3 separate regions of the Homo sapiens genome follow, and all the other regions are linked to region 1. The links are contacts of gene promoters, found by promoter capture Hi-C in blood cells and fetal thymus (Javierre and others, 2016). All regions are on one chromosome and are shown on one strand. The core of a region is centred on a gene start or on the middle of the fragment in contact, and the rest is flanking DNA. Distances in the headings are between cores, read along the strand shown. Region 1 holds the start of BTBD9 (BTB domain containing 9). Region 2 holds the start of CMTR1 (cap methyltransferase 1). Region 3 holds the start of RNF8 (ring finger protein 8).

What was found. Contacts are between HindIII fragments. The CHiCAGO score rates a contact against its expected background, and 5 or more counts as called.
Region 2: a contact is called between the fragment with the promoter of CMTR1 here and the fragment with the promoter of BTBD9 in region 1, in 1 of 17 cell types (naive B cells). The highest score is 5.2, in naive B cells.
Region 3: a fragment that was not itself captured here is called in contact with the fragment with the promoter of BTBD9 in region 1 in 1 of 17 cell types (fetal thymus); the score reaches 5.5 in fetal thymus.

The regions. Positions count from the first base shown.
Region 1 is chr6:38,638,198-38,642,756 of GRCh38, reverse strand. It overlaps BTBD9 (BTB domain containing 9), which reads left to right and starts at 2,828. Exons shown (of 11, transcript NM_001099272.2): 1 at 2,828-2,957. LOC105375044 (a long non-coding RNA gene) reads right to left here and starts at 2,362. Exons shown (of 3, transcript XR_926767.4): 1 at 2,273-2,362. RefSeq lists enhancers at 2,486-2,565, 2,366-2,866 and a silencer at 2,966-3,165. The HindIII fragment of the contact is 9,229 bases long and covers 1,785-4,559 here.
Region 2 is chr6:37,430,437-37,435,071 of GRCh38, reverse strand. CMTR1 (cap methyltransferase 1) reads right to left here and starts at 1,851. Exons shown (of 24, transcript NM_015050.3): 1 at 1,695-1,851. LOC107986531 (a long non-coding RNA gene) reads left to right here and starts at 1,849. Exons shown (of 2, transcript NR_171666.1): 1 at 1,849-2,021; 2 at 2,137-2,844. RefSeq lists a silencer at 1,506-1,695 and enhancers at 1,696-1,975, 1,668-2,169. The HindIII fragment of the contact is 3,378 bases long and covers 1,041-4,418 here.
Region 3 is chr6:37,353,609-37,358,185 of GRCh38, reverse strand. RNF8 (ring finger protein 8) reads right to left here and starts at 4,203. Exons shown (of 8, transcript NM_003958.4): 1 at 3,911-4,203. The coding sequence starts at 4,021. RefSeq lists an enhancer at 3,901-3,950 and a silencer at 4,251-4,350. The HindIII fragment of the contact is 1,305 bases long and covers 1,655-2,959 here.

The DNA of each region.
Region 1 (4,559 bases), core at 1,579-4,078:
CCACTATCCCACTGAAGTTTGCTATTGTTGGTTACCAATCACTTTTCTGTTGCTAAATCCAGTGAATGCTTTCCAGTTCTTGATATACTTGGCCTTTTTGTGGTCTCTGACTCTGTTGACCCCTCTCCATCTTGCTTGCTTGGCTTCAGAGGCATTAGGCTCACCTAGTTCTCCTTTTCTCTCTCTGGCCATTCTTCCTCAGACTTCTTTTTGGGCTTCTGATCATCTGCACCTCCTTTTAAAGTTAGTGCTCTCCAGGGGCCCTATCCTTGCCTCTCCTTATTATGTCTTCTGTATTTTCTCCCTGATTGATCTCATCCATGCCTCGGGCTTAAATTACCAATTATTAATTTATTTCTTCCAAATCTATTTTAACTCAACCTCTTTCCTCATTCATAGACCTGTACAGTTTGAGTGTTTATTGGACATTTTTCTCTAGATGTGGAGGTTCCATCAGGTCACAGTCATATTGCTATAGTCTCTGAGGGGACCTACTGAATTGTACCCTTCTTTTCCAGGTAATGGAGAAAGCTGCAGGAAACCAACTATTATCTTTATTACTGACTGTATCAGTTTCCTATTGCTGTTGTAACAAGTTAGCACAAACTTGGTACCTTAAAACATACAAGTTTCTTATCTCGCAGTTCTAGAAGTCAGAAGTCCTAAAATCAAGGTGTTGGCAGGGCTGTGTTCTTAGGGTGCTAGAGAAGAATCCATTTCCTTGCCTTCTCCCGCATCTACAATTTGCTTGCGTTTCTTGGGTCCATCTTCAAAGCCAACAGTATAGCATCTTCAAATCTCTGTCTGACCTCTGCTTCCATCATCACATCTCCTTCTCTGACTCTGACCCTCCTGCCTCCAGCCCAGTCAGACAATCCAGGATAATCTCCCTAGATACATCATTTAATCATATCTGCAAAGTCCCTTTTGCCACATAATATAACATATTCATGGGTTCTGAGTATTAGGGTGTGGTCATCCTTTTTTTTTTGGTTGGGGGGGATCATTATTCTGTGTAACACAGCTGACAAAGCTGGTATTAAATATTATCTGTGGACAGACAGCTTCCTAATGCCAAACTCTGGAATTAAATACATATACTCTCTTTGTAGCCCTGGACTAGGCACCCTTGTCCCTACCCACAGGCCCTGCTCCAGAAGAAACGGAAAAGAACACCAGGACAGTTCCCTGAAGATAGTTATCTTTTAAGAGAAAAAGAATGGGATAGATGCCACATGTCCAGTTTCTCCCATTTAAGTTCACCAATCAGGAAGTCACTCCTCTAGGCAAGAGTGAGTTGCAGACAGGTATAAGAGAAACCAGGAGAGTATTACACTAATGGATATCATTCCATATGGAAGAAAGACATTGTGAATGGAGAGTAAATGTTTCCCTAACAAACATATCCATATTTGAACTCATCATCATACTCCACATATCTGGTCATCCTCCTAAGAAATGTCACCATCACTATCTATAATAGTAACTTAGACACTTGTGGATAATCAAGACTCATGTAGCTTGCCATCTTGCTAAATGTTACCACTGTCTACCTCAGCACTCATGCTAGAAACCTGGCCTACTCATTTATCCGCACTCAGTGCTGTGAATTCTACCACCTTAATGGCGCTAACATCTATCCCCTCCTCTATTCCCACTGCCAATGCCTTGTTTAATGTTCTTATCACTTGTCTGGAGTACTGCAATGGCCTAAAAATGGGTCTCCCTGCCCCAAGCCTTGCTTTTCCTGACCATTTTCACTTTCTACTTTTACTCATGAAGCTTCCTTTGCCCGGAATTAAGTCCTTCCCAATTTGTCTCCTCCAACAACTGCAAGGGCGGTCCCCTAGCTTGCTCCAGCGTCGGGGATAACTGACTTTCCTACACCAGCTACAGTCAGACCTGCACCCGGATTTCTAGGACTCTTATCTATGTAGATAGATAAATACATTTTTTTGAGACAGTGTCTTGCTCTCACTGCAGAGGCTGGAGTGCAGCGGCGCGATCACGGTTCACTGCAATCTTGAACTCCCCAGGTTCAAGCGATCCTCCCACCTCAGCCCCCCGAGCATTTGTGACTACAGGCGCGCGCCAACATGCCCATTTAGTTTTTGTCTTTTTTGTAGAGACGGGGTTTCACTATGTTACCCAGGCTGGTGTCGAACTCCTGAGCTCAAGCGATCCGCCCACCTCGGCCTCCCAAAGTGCTGGGATTACAGGCTTGAGCCACCAAGTCAAATGGGCTTTATACTTACAAAGTACCTTTGCATACCTTATTTCATTTTCACCTCACAATTCTCCAGCGTAGGCTGGACCGGTATTATTATGCCCATTTACTGAGAGAGGAAACTGAGAGTCAAGGCTGGGCCAGTCACACCCTGCTGCGAAATTAACGAGCATCACTTAGCAGCCTCGACATTAACCGCGCTCGCGCTCTCATCCCTTTCTGGTCCTACTCCTTGGAGAACCTTCCTGCACCTCCAAGAACTTGCCGATCGGGTCTGCGGCGGTCTGGACGAGGTCACTCCACAGGCGCCCAGGACCTTCTCATCCGTAGTGACGTGCGCCGGTGACGCCATACAGTGACGTGTGGTGACTCGACTTACCCGGAGCCAGGTGCCGGCAGGGCAGCCACACCCTGGGGCCCCCTGTTCTGGAGGGGCAGAGGGTCGGGCCGATGCGAAAAAGCCGCGGAAGCTGCCTTAGGCGACTTTCTGGGCCTGCATCGCCGGACCCAGCAGCCCGCTGTCGATCGGTTGCTAAGTGACGCCAGCGCGCAGTGGCGCGTGCGCGGCCACGGCGGAGTGCGTGAAAGCGGACGCGCGCCGCAGCAGCCGGGGCGGCGGCGAGGACGGCGGCCACGGAAGCGGCCAAGGGGGCGGTGGCGCAGAGAGGGGTGCGGAGCGGGCGGAAGAGGCGTCTGTGTCGCAGCTTGGTCTCAGAGGAGCATCGCTGGGGTGAGTAGCCGGGTCCTTGCAGGGGAGGTGGGGCCTGGCCGCACCTGCGGCGCGGGGACGCGCGCCCCCGCCGTATCCGCGCGCACCGCCCCCCGCCCCTCCGCCGCTTTTTCCGGGGGCGGGGGAGGAGCTGGGACGGGGCCTGACGAGGGTCATTTCTTGGGCCCGGGTGCTCTGGGAGAGCGGTAGCCGTCCCGTTCGCAGTCCACGAAGGTGTAGTGGGAAGTAGACGTTTCGGGGATTCGGGGTGGCTCTACCAGCCTCCCAAAGAGAGGAGTTCGAATCAGGGGCAGCCCAGGTTCCCTAGCAGTCTCGTATCCTGTCTGAGACGACGTTGCCTGGGACTGAGGAGGCGAAACCCGGGACCCCGGGGTGGGGGTTTGGAAAGTTTGGGACTGCTGGGGCCCTCATCTCCCCTGCCCTGGCCAGCCTCTGAGTAGGAGCTGGTTGTTATGGAGAGAGTTGTGAATCAGTGCCTGCGTGCGGCATCAGACACACCCACGACCTTGGGAGGGCGACCTGTCAGTATAGATCCGGGGCAGCCAACCTGTTGCCTAGAGTTTCTAACTTCACATGTATGTGCATGTGTTTCCTTGGCGTTTTAGTACATTGTTGTTACAGATTTTGAGACCAAGGTGCTGATAGGCATCCTCATTTCTTACTTCCTCATAGACTTAGTTATCTTGCTATATTTCCCAGAACCGTGTTGTGCTTTTGTCATTAGTAGATCCAAGGAAGTATGGAAGCATGTTTTGTTTGTTTTTCCTAAAGGCAGTACAGGCTGCTATTTTCTGGGCAGAAAATACGGATTCTGTTCACTGTGTGGGCGGAAAGTGTTGATGATGGGAGAACCCAGCATGTAAAGGTGTAGCTCATCCTCAGCCCTGTGCTGTCTTCTCAGTGCTCTGGACTCTATCATGGGTAGATGTATAGGGGTTGTGGTTACCATACTTGGGAGCGAGGAATATTGGAGACAGGGAAGAAGCCAGTCTTTTCTTTCTGTTGATTAAGGCAATTTGTAGAACCAGTGAAAAGATAGGCTGTACTGAAATCTAATGTTTTGTGTAAGAGGATAGAGGAAAATAAGTTCAAGGTTCTCATTTAGGTCTAAAATTCTATGATTCTGTTTCATAACTGAGAATCTGTAAAGTATGTTACCTCTTGGAACCAGTAATAACCTTGCTTTGTAACACTTATTAGATTACTCGGAATTCAAAGTGTCTTCCTCCCTCCACTGTAATAGCTTTTAGGACAGGAGTCATCTGTGTTTTCCTCCTTGCCCTATGTCTAACACATAGGAAAAATGTGCTTGCCACAGAGTAGGCATGCAATGGATATTTGTTATATAGCACACTATGCTCAAGTGGTGTATCTATGTATAGAAAGCATTGAGTTCAGTCCATCAAGTACTTAATACATGTGCCTCCCTCTGCCCAGTATCATGATAGGTGTGGGAGGAGGATTATGGAGTGAAAAATGACATAGAAGACCTGTCTTTTTTTTCCCTTTGAGAGCAGTAGTCTAGCTAGGAGATGTATAAAATAATTATAAAACCAAGTTAAGTAGCAGGTAACCAGTGCTGTTTGAGGACTATAAATGTGG
Region 2 (4,635 bases), core at 602-3,101, 1.2 Mb after region 1:
TAAGCAGAGTAGGGAATGGAAGCAGTGAAATGACTTAAGACCGAGGAAACACAAGAGCGGGAAAGTTATTGGGACTGGAGGTAGCTATACCACAGAACTCAGTTACGAAAACAACAATTTTAAGGACAGAAATCCACCTCCACAAAAAAGAGTGGAAACCAGCTGGGCGCGGTGGCTCACGCCTGTAATCCCAGCACTTTGGGAGAAAGAGGTGGGCGGATCACCTGAGGTCAGGAGTTCAAGACCAGCCTGGCCAACATGGTGAAACCCCATCTCTAGTAAAAAAAACACAAAAATTAGCCGGGTGGTGGCACATGCCTGTAGTCCCAGCTACTCAGGAGAACCGCTTGAATTGCTGAGGCGGAGGTTGCAGTGAGCCGAGATCACACCACTGCACTCCACCCTGGGCGACAGAGCAAGACTCCGTCTCAAAAAAACAAAAAAGAAAGAAACAGGCACCATGCCACCATCAATCATCCATCCCCATGGTTAGGTACATGAGAGATAAGCACGAGAAAAAAATAAGATGGAATGAAGTGATTATGAAACCCTGAAATCTTAACGAATTATCAAGTTAAAGAGCAAGCAAGAGAAGTAGTGAATACAGTGTGGCTTACACACAACTGATTGGCTGTAGAGAACTCAGAAAAGAGGACTCAATACAGGGTGGGCGACAAGCTGGGAAACAATCCTTAGGGAAGGCGAGGTACAGCAAGAAAGTATTGAAACCCAAAAGTGTCACTGATGCTCCCAACCTCGTAAAACCCTGGATCACATGTTTCAGTTCTCTCCAACTCAAGGAAGAGCCAATCAACCCAATGCACAACCGCCACCTTCCTGAGAAAGCAGCCTCTTACTAGATACAGGCAGGGGCTGTCCCAGGGAAGAACCGGAGACACTGAGCAAACAGAAAGCAAGACCAAGCTAAGCCACATTTCACTTTAAGCCGTAGTCTTAAATACCCCCAAAAGGCCCCCAGGGTGAGATAAAGGAAGGCTCATCACAGAGCTTGCTTCTAGCCATTGCAAGCGCTAAAAGCTTTTAATTCTTAAGTGACTCGGGGGGAGACTGGAAGTACAGCAAACTCAAAGCGGACTGTTGAACAGCTGTGTGAAAGGCAGGAGAGGCGGATGCTCCTCCCCAAACCACATCACCTTAGATTTGGGCCTTCCAAATCATCTCATCCAACCCTATCATCTTCCACGGGAAAAGACTGCGGCCACAGAGGTGAAGGCCACACAGCTAACCAGTGCCCTGCTCAAGTGACCCACACATGCCAGCAGAATGCTCTGGCAGGGAACTTCTAAGCGGAAGGCAAGCGGCCTGGTTCTACCTGCTGCTTCCGCACAGAAGGGGTTCAAATCCCCTCTGCAGTCTTCTCTCCCTGGGCCTCGGTTTGGCACTGCCACCCCTAATCACAGAGAGAAGAGATAAGCTCCCATGTCTCCCGGCCAGTCCCTTCATTTGAAGATAACATGAGCGTGTGAATGTGTGCGCAGAGACGTGTGTCAGCGGCAGCTCGGGCTCCAGGGAGCCGGCGTTGGGGGTGGGAGGAGGAGGGAAGACATAAGGGGCCAGAAGGCGAGGAGACCCATAACCGCGGGCGGGGGGCCCAGGCGGCGGTGGAGGGGAGAAGGATGCTGAGCCCGCGCGCCCGCCCGCTTGCTCCCCCCGGGCCGCGCGTCGGCACTCACGCTGAGGGGAGAGAGCGAGCTGCCGGGGAGCGGAGGGGGGGTCAGGCCGACACTGTCGCCGCCGCTGCCAGAGCCGCCGCCTCCTCCCTCAGTTTCGTTTCCCCACAAGCCAGCCCGGGTCCGCCAGCCGCACCGTCGCGCTCGGGTCCAGTACTGCGGGCAGCGCAGCCTGATGACGTCACGGACAGCGCCGCGCCTCGGTCCTCCCCCGGCCGGGTCCCGGCCCCGGGAAAGGCAGCTGAGGTTTGGCCCGCTCCACCTCTCAACCTGGGAGGTCCAGGGGCGCCTGCGCGGAAAAGCCGCCCGGAAAAGGCTGCAAAAGCAAAAGTAACTATCTCCTCCTTTGGCTCTGAGGAAGAGAAACCAATACAAAAATTGTAAGTGCTAGGTGCCCTCACACGACCTCATCTTACTTAATCTTATCATTATCTTCATTTTACAGACTAAGAACAAGTTCAGAGAGGTAGATGGTAAACTGGTTGAGCGAACGCAGTGTTCTTGTTCCCTGCTGTATCCCCAACATCCAGCCTATGGGACATCTCAACAGATTTTGAACGAAGGACGGGAGGACAGAAGGAATGCCGCCTGTAGCATCTTACCATATGGGCACAGTTGGCTCTCCATCTCAAACCTCTCTTCTGATTTTCAGGCCAATATGGCCAAACGTCTGTTGGACATCCTCACTCAGTCACCTCAAACCCCATGAATTCAAATTTCACCTTATGTTCTTCCATCAGCTCACTTTTTTCCTGGTGAAGGGCGCTGCCATCCATCCTGTTGGTCCAGCTAGAAATCTGAGGAATCTCCCTCTTCTTCATACCCCAAAGTTTCTCATACACTTAATTGCGCTTACCTCCTAATTGTCTTTCAAATCCATCCATTCACCCCCATCCCCATTGCCACAATTCATGCACTTACCCCCTCTCGGCAGAATTTCTCCAGTAACTCCAAACTCCCGTGACTGTCTCCAGTTGTGATCCCTCTAATGCGTTCTTCACAAAACCAAAGTGATTTTTATAATTTTCAACACCTGTGAAAAGAAGGGAATTTAAAATTGATTAATTAAACCTGATCCTGTCACAACCCAACAATGATTAAAATCCATCAATGATGTCCCATTGCTCTTAGAATAAAGCTAATGTCCTTAAAATGGCCTCTGAGACCCTCCAGCATGACCCCTTCTTCAGGTATGCCTTGTACTGCTATCCCTTAGTTCTCCCCATGCTGACTCTTCTCAGTTTATCAAATATGCCGTGTCTCCGCCGGGCGCGGTGGCTCACACCTGTAATCCCAGCACGTGGGGAGGCTGAGGCGGATGGATCACCTGAGGTCAGGAGTTCGAGACCAGCCTGGCCAACATGGTGAAATCCCGTCTCTACTGAAGATACAAAAAAAGTAGCTGGGTGTGGTGGTGCGCACCTATAGTCCCAGCTACTCAGTAGGGTAAGTCAGGAAAATCGCTTGAACCTGGGAAGCAGAGGTTGCAGTGAGCAGAGATTGCACCACTGCACTCCAGCCTGGGCGACAGAGCCAGACTCCATCTCAAAAACAGAACACAACAAAACAAAACATGCCATGTCTCTTAAGAGTTCAGCCCCCTGCCTGGATCATGCTTCTCCTCTTTGCTGGGCTAATGTCCATTTATCCCTCAGGAGTCACTTTAGTGTCCCTATCTCGAAATATTTCCTGATGTCACAAATCTAGGTTGGGAGACCCACCTCTGAGCTCCTAAAGCACTCTGTCCTTCCACTATCAAAGCACTTACCACGGTGTTGTATAATGGCCTGTGGACTCATCTGCCTCCCCGACTCAGCTGTAAACTCTGTACAGGAAAGATTGTCTGTCTGTATTAAATTCACAAGATTTAACAGAGGCTGGTGGTCAGTGCTCAATAGATATTTACTGAATCTGTGGAAGTGTGGAATATGAATGAAGGTTGAGTGATATGTTCAAGATTACAGAGCTAGGAAGCAGCAAACAGGTATTTACCTAGTTCTCTATGTTCTAAAGTTTAGTGTCCTTCTTTCCACCTCACTGAGGCTTCTTAGCATGCATTATGACATGAACACTTTTGGTAATCTTGTAGAGCTTATGGACCCATTCTCAAAATAATAATTTGAAGGGTATAAAATAAGGTATAGGAAATGAGTTATATTGAAAAAGTTAACATATTTAGCAAATTTAATGATTTAATTTTTATGTAAAGCATTAAATAATGAGAGAATGCATTCAAAATATAGTCAAGTTAAAGTTAAATTTTATTTTTTAATGTATATGAGTATACCCAATGAATAGTGCTGGAAAAAACAGATAAATATATAGGGAAACACGAACTTTGAATCTTTTTTTTTTTTTTTTTTTTTTTGAGACGGAGTCTTGCTCTGTCACCCAGGCTGGAGTGCAGTGGCACAATCTCCGCTCACTGCAAGCACCACCTCCAGGTTCACGCCATTCTCCTGCCTCAGCCTGCCGAGTAGCTGGGACTACAGGCGCCCGCCACCACGCCCGGCTAATTTTTTGTATTTTTAATAGAGATGGGGTTTCACCGTGTTAGCCAGGATGGTCTTGATCTCCTGACCTCGTGATCCGCCCACCTCAGCCTCCCAAAGGACTGGGATTACAGGCGTGAGCCAACGTGCTCGGCCCACTTTGATTCTTACTTTATGCCAAATGCAAATTAAGATACATCATAGACCTAAGCATAAAATCTAAAATGATAAAGCTTTTAACAGAAAACACAGGAAAATATTTTTGCAGACTTAGGGTAGACAAAGATTTTTTTTTACATGGGACCCAGGGAGCATTAATCGAAAGAAAAATAATGATAAAATGGAGTTCATCAAAATAAAAGGCTTCTACTCAACAAAAGACACCATTAAGACATTGAATAATCAAACCACAGAATGAGAGGAAAAGATTCACAATACATATATCTGACAAA
Region 3 (4,577 bases), core at 1,058-3,557, 1.3 Mb after region 1:
CTTAAGCCCATCTCCCCGAAGTGCCAGCCTACCTGAGGGTCTTTTCACTTAGCCCCTCTGCTAAGAACACTCTTCTCTCAGATCTTGCACAGGCTCCTTATCTTTCATGTTCCAGCTACTCATAAGCCTACTCTGATTACCTCTGTCTAAAGTTGGTTGTCTGCTTCCCATCATATTTCTTCAGTTATTAGGAAGTACTTATCACAGACCAAAATTATCTTGTTTATTTTACTTTTCCCCTCTGTCCCCGTAATAGAATATAAATTAGATAAGCAGGGACTTTATCTGTCTTGTTTACCACTGTGTTTCTATACCTGGCATAGTGTTCAGTTAAGTATTTGAGAATGAATGAAAGAATAAAGAGGTCTTGCATATGAGTCCTCAAGATTTTAGGGTGGGTGTTTTTAGGTCAGAAGTTAGAGACTGTATTACCATTGGAAAATATGGAGCAGCAGTTGGAACTCATACAGTCTCACTTGTTTCTCTTTAAAATGTTGTGGTGATCACTCCACCAACACTGAGCACAAAGTTTTTCAGTTCTTTCACACTCTGCCAGAATTATATTAATTATAGAAGTTCCTCTGAATACACATATCTGTTAAAAATGGAATGGCTAGGGATTTATCTGTCGTCCATATTCAGTAAAATTTCTATTTAGGTAGCTTTATCTCTAAGAGAGGAAGCATCTCATATTACATGCTAATACTTGAGGGGAGACAGCCAGACTGCCATTGTGAGTAGCCAGGGGAAAACAGTACCAAAACAGTAGAAGAGTGCCTTTTCCTGACATTGCCTCCAACAGACTCTGAACCCAGAAAAAGGAATCATTCTTTTACATCCTTCCCTGCACTGCCTGGTCTTAGAATTTACCTTGGTACTACTGATATTTCACCTATACTGTAGTTAAAGAGTGCAGTGAGGTTACCTGGAAATCTCAGGACCACTCAACATAACACTGAATTTCCCGTGGGAACTGACTGACGACCCATATGTGAGGGGTTGTTTTCATTTACAATAGTTTTGCAAGCCTTTGAGCTTACACACATTATTGATCTAAAAGATCATCCTGTCTTTGCCCACCTTCACTAAGACTATCTCTTTCCTCCTGGGCACAATTCCTACTGTTTCTCAAATAACAAGTAAATCTGGCCAGGTGTGGTGGCTCACACCTGTAATTCCAGCACTTTGGGAAGCCCAGGCGGGCGGATCACATGAGGCCAGGAGTTCGAGACCAGCCTGGCCAACATGGCGAAACCCCACCTCTATTGAAAACACAAAAAGTAACTGGGCATAGTGGTGCATATCTGTAATCCCAGCTACTTCGGAGGCTGAGACAGAAGAACCACTTGAACCAGGGAGGTGAAGGTGTGATCACACCACTGCACTCCAGCCTGGGTGACAGAAGGAGTACTCTGTCTCAAAACAAAACACCCCACAAAAAAGCCCCCAAACCAGTAAATATAACCATCCTTTCCCTTTTTTCCCTTGGGGCAGAAAACTTAATGAAAACTAAATACAAGAGAAGAAAAGGGGAGAGAAGGTTCTGTTGTTTTCCCCAAAGGCCTAGATACTTTATAGTACCTGAGAACTAGCTAATTTGCAATAAATCTCTACTTGTTTTTCCACCAAACTCTATGCATTGCTTTAACAAGCTTAAAGCCACTTAATTAGACAATTTACTACAGTGTTCCCATCAATGAAATGAAAGGAACCCTGTTTTATTATTTTATCCACAACATCTGAGACTAAGAACTGGAAAGGCAGGGAACTGACCTACCTTTGCTGTTATGTTATTAGCGTATCTTTTAAAATCTTGTGCAAAACAGCTTGTGCTATGATTTGGGGACCATAACAATAAGTACAACTTCTTCTCTTGCCTTTGATTCAGACTTCTTTTCAGGCTATGCTACGACCTGACCTTGCAGGCAGCCAAGCCTGGCAGGCTTCTCCTACACACAGGTCCCTGAAGCCAGCCACAGTCTTACCACTGAGTTTATATGGGTCCCTCCCCATGCAACTGGCCCCATAAAGAACTATCAAATGGTTTAGAATATGTCTAAGACTGCTTTATAGTCTTCTTGCCCTTTCTTCAGGTGCTTTAATTCGTCCTCCCCATCCCACCTGCCCAAGACTGCAGTACTGACAAGCTATTCAGAAGTCATAAATTAATCCACAACAATTGAATCTAAAGGAATAACACTTGCCCACTGAGTTATCTTATGAGGTTGTGTGTATGCAGGGATCAGATTAAGTAATGTATGTGAAATTAACTAATAGTTATGCACAAAAATAATTTATTTTTGTGTGTATTATTCAGGTTATTATTCAGGTGTTCGTGTTTTAATTTGTTAAACTTCCCACAAACATATGCTGTTGGAAAGGGCCAGGCAGGGAAAGATCAGTGCTCAAGCTAAAAGAATGAATGCTTAATGTGGACTTTTAGGCACTAATACCTGGATAGAAGAGGTATTTGGAGGCAGAGATGTTTTCTTGGTGTTCCTCAAACCACAGCATACAAGTAACCCTTTATAACACTCCCTAATCTAGCAATTAAATTTGTGCCTAGACATGAATTCCTCCTCTGACTTGAAGAACTACTGCTCTGGGAAGGAACTAAATAATCCAAATCTTAGCACTTGATCATACAGCCCATATGGATGTTCTTTATACGATGACTGCTTCATTGTATAAATCCTCTCTCCCCACTCAAGCCTTAAACTCTTCGAGCGCAGAAATTTTATTTGTCCTCATTGTACACCAAACAATGTTAAATACTCAGTAAATACCTGGCAGACTGAATTGAGGCAGTACGGCTTATAGGAAAAATCTACCTGAACACACATGAGACTCAAAATACTTCTTGAATTTACATCATGACCAACCATCCACTTTTACTGCAAAGAGAACTTTTCATACAGATTATTTCCAAAACCCAAATGGTTCCCAGTCATCACAAGCTTGTCCCTGACCCAGTTCTCCTTCTCAACCTGATTGCAATCTAACTCCCTCCTCCCTTCCCTCGTCTTTTCAAGATGCACCACGCTGGTGCATCTTGAACCGTGCCAGGAACGGTACCTCATCTTTCCCCTTAAAATATTTTTCATTTGCAACTGCATTAATAAAGACGACAGGCAGCCTCTGGAGAGAACTCTGAATACCTGCCCGACCCACCTCAGGGAGTGCCACTCGGCCGTACCGAGCCTCACAGGAGAAATGTGGCCCAGCCCAAGCCGCCCATGTTCCTCAGAGTTGGGAAGGAGGAAGACATTTCTACGTGAAAGTTTGATTGCTTTAAGGGACAAAACCCAAAATTTGCAATCGTTTTCAAAACAAACTCGAGAAAGTTCAGGCGCCGGGCCCTGCCTCGGCTTCCCGGCAGCTCGCGGCCCCCGCCACCGTTCCCCGACCTGGCACCGCGGGGCTCTGTGCGCCCTAAACGGGATCTGGCCAGCCCCCGCCCTCCCCTCCTCGACACCCCCGCATCTCCTCACGTTCCCTGCGCGTCCCTCTCCTCCCAGTCCCCGGCCCAGCTACCCGCTGACCCAGGCCTCTCTGGACGGGGCCCGCTTCTCGCCCCACAGGCCGCGGGTCAGGGCCTCCGTCCTCGCCCCAACCCTTGTGGCCCCCCCGGGCTCCCCAGAGCCGAACTCTCTTTTCTTCCTTTCTCCCACTCGGCCCCTATTTCTCCCCCAAACACCTCCCACCGCAGACCCTTCAGCCGCTCGCGCCAGAACCGCTTTCTCCCTTCTCTCCCCAGGAATCCACCCCCCCCACAGACACTTCGCTCCTCTTCCTGATGCCCGCCTCCTCTCTGCCATTCATTCAGCCCAGCAAGACACCTTCCTCCCTCCCCGGAGCCCCGCTCCCTCCAGCCCCTGCCCTCCGCTCCACAGGACCCCTTCCCCCGTACCTCGCACCCATCTTCCAGCAGCAGCCACCCGGCGCTCATCCCCACCCGCCGCAGGCACCAGCTCCGGCCACCGGCGCGGTCTCCTGTGACGAAGAAGCCGGGCTCCCCCATCGCCTACTCGACCCCGGGGGCGGTCAGCACCGAGCGAGACCCTGACCTAGGTTCTGGCTGCCTCTGTGCATCCCCTCAGCTTCCATATCTAAATAACAGACAGAAGCAATCGCCACACGCTCGCGATCGCTGCGAAAGCAGGCTCCGCTCGCCCGCCCTCGGCCAGGAAGCAGGAGCACTACGCCTGCGCAAGAGGACGGCGGCCGCCCTGGAGCAAAGAGGGTGGGTTGGGAGCCAATCCGGCCCTGGGCGGGGCGGGCGCGATTCGAGAGGTCTCCTCGCCTCACACCTTCCCTCGCCGCCTCCAGAACCATCACCCCAGTCCTAGCCGCCCCAGACTGGAACCTCTTCTCACCTTTCCTCTTTTTAAAAAAGTCATGTGAAACTATAGCCCACTTTTAAACAACTTTAAACTTTCCATCGGATTTAAGTCTGCCTAGTCTGTTGCTAAATAGTCTCTATTTTGCACGACCTACTTATATTACCGAAGTAAAAAATAAATTACACTAGGCAAATCTACAAAGACAAAGAGCACAGTTACCTGGGGCGAGGTGTG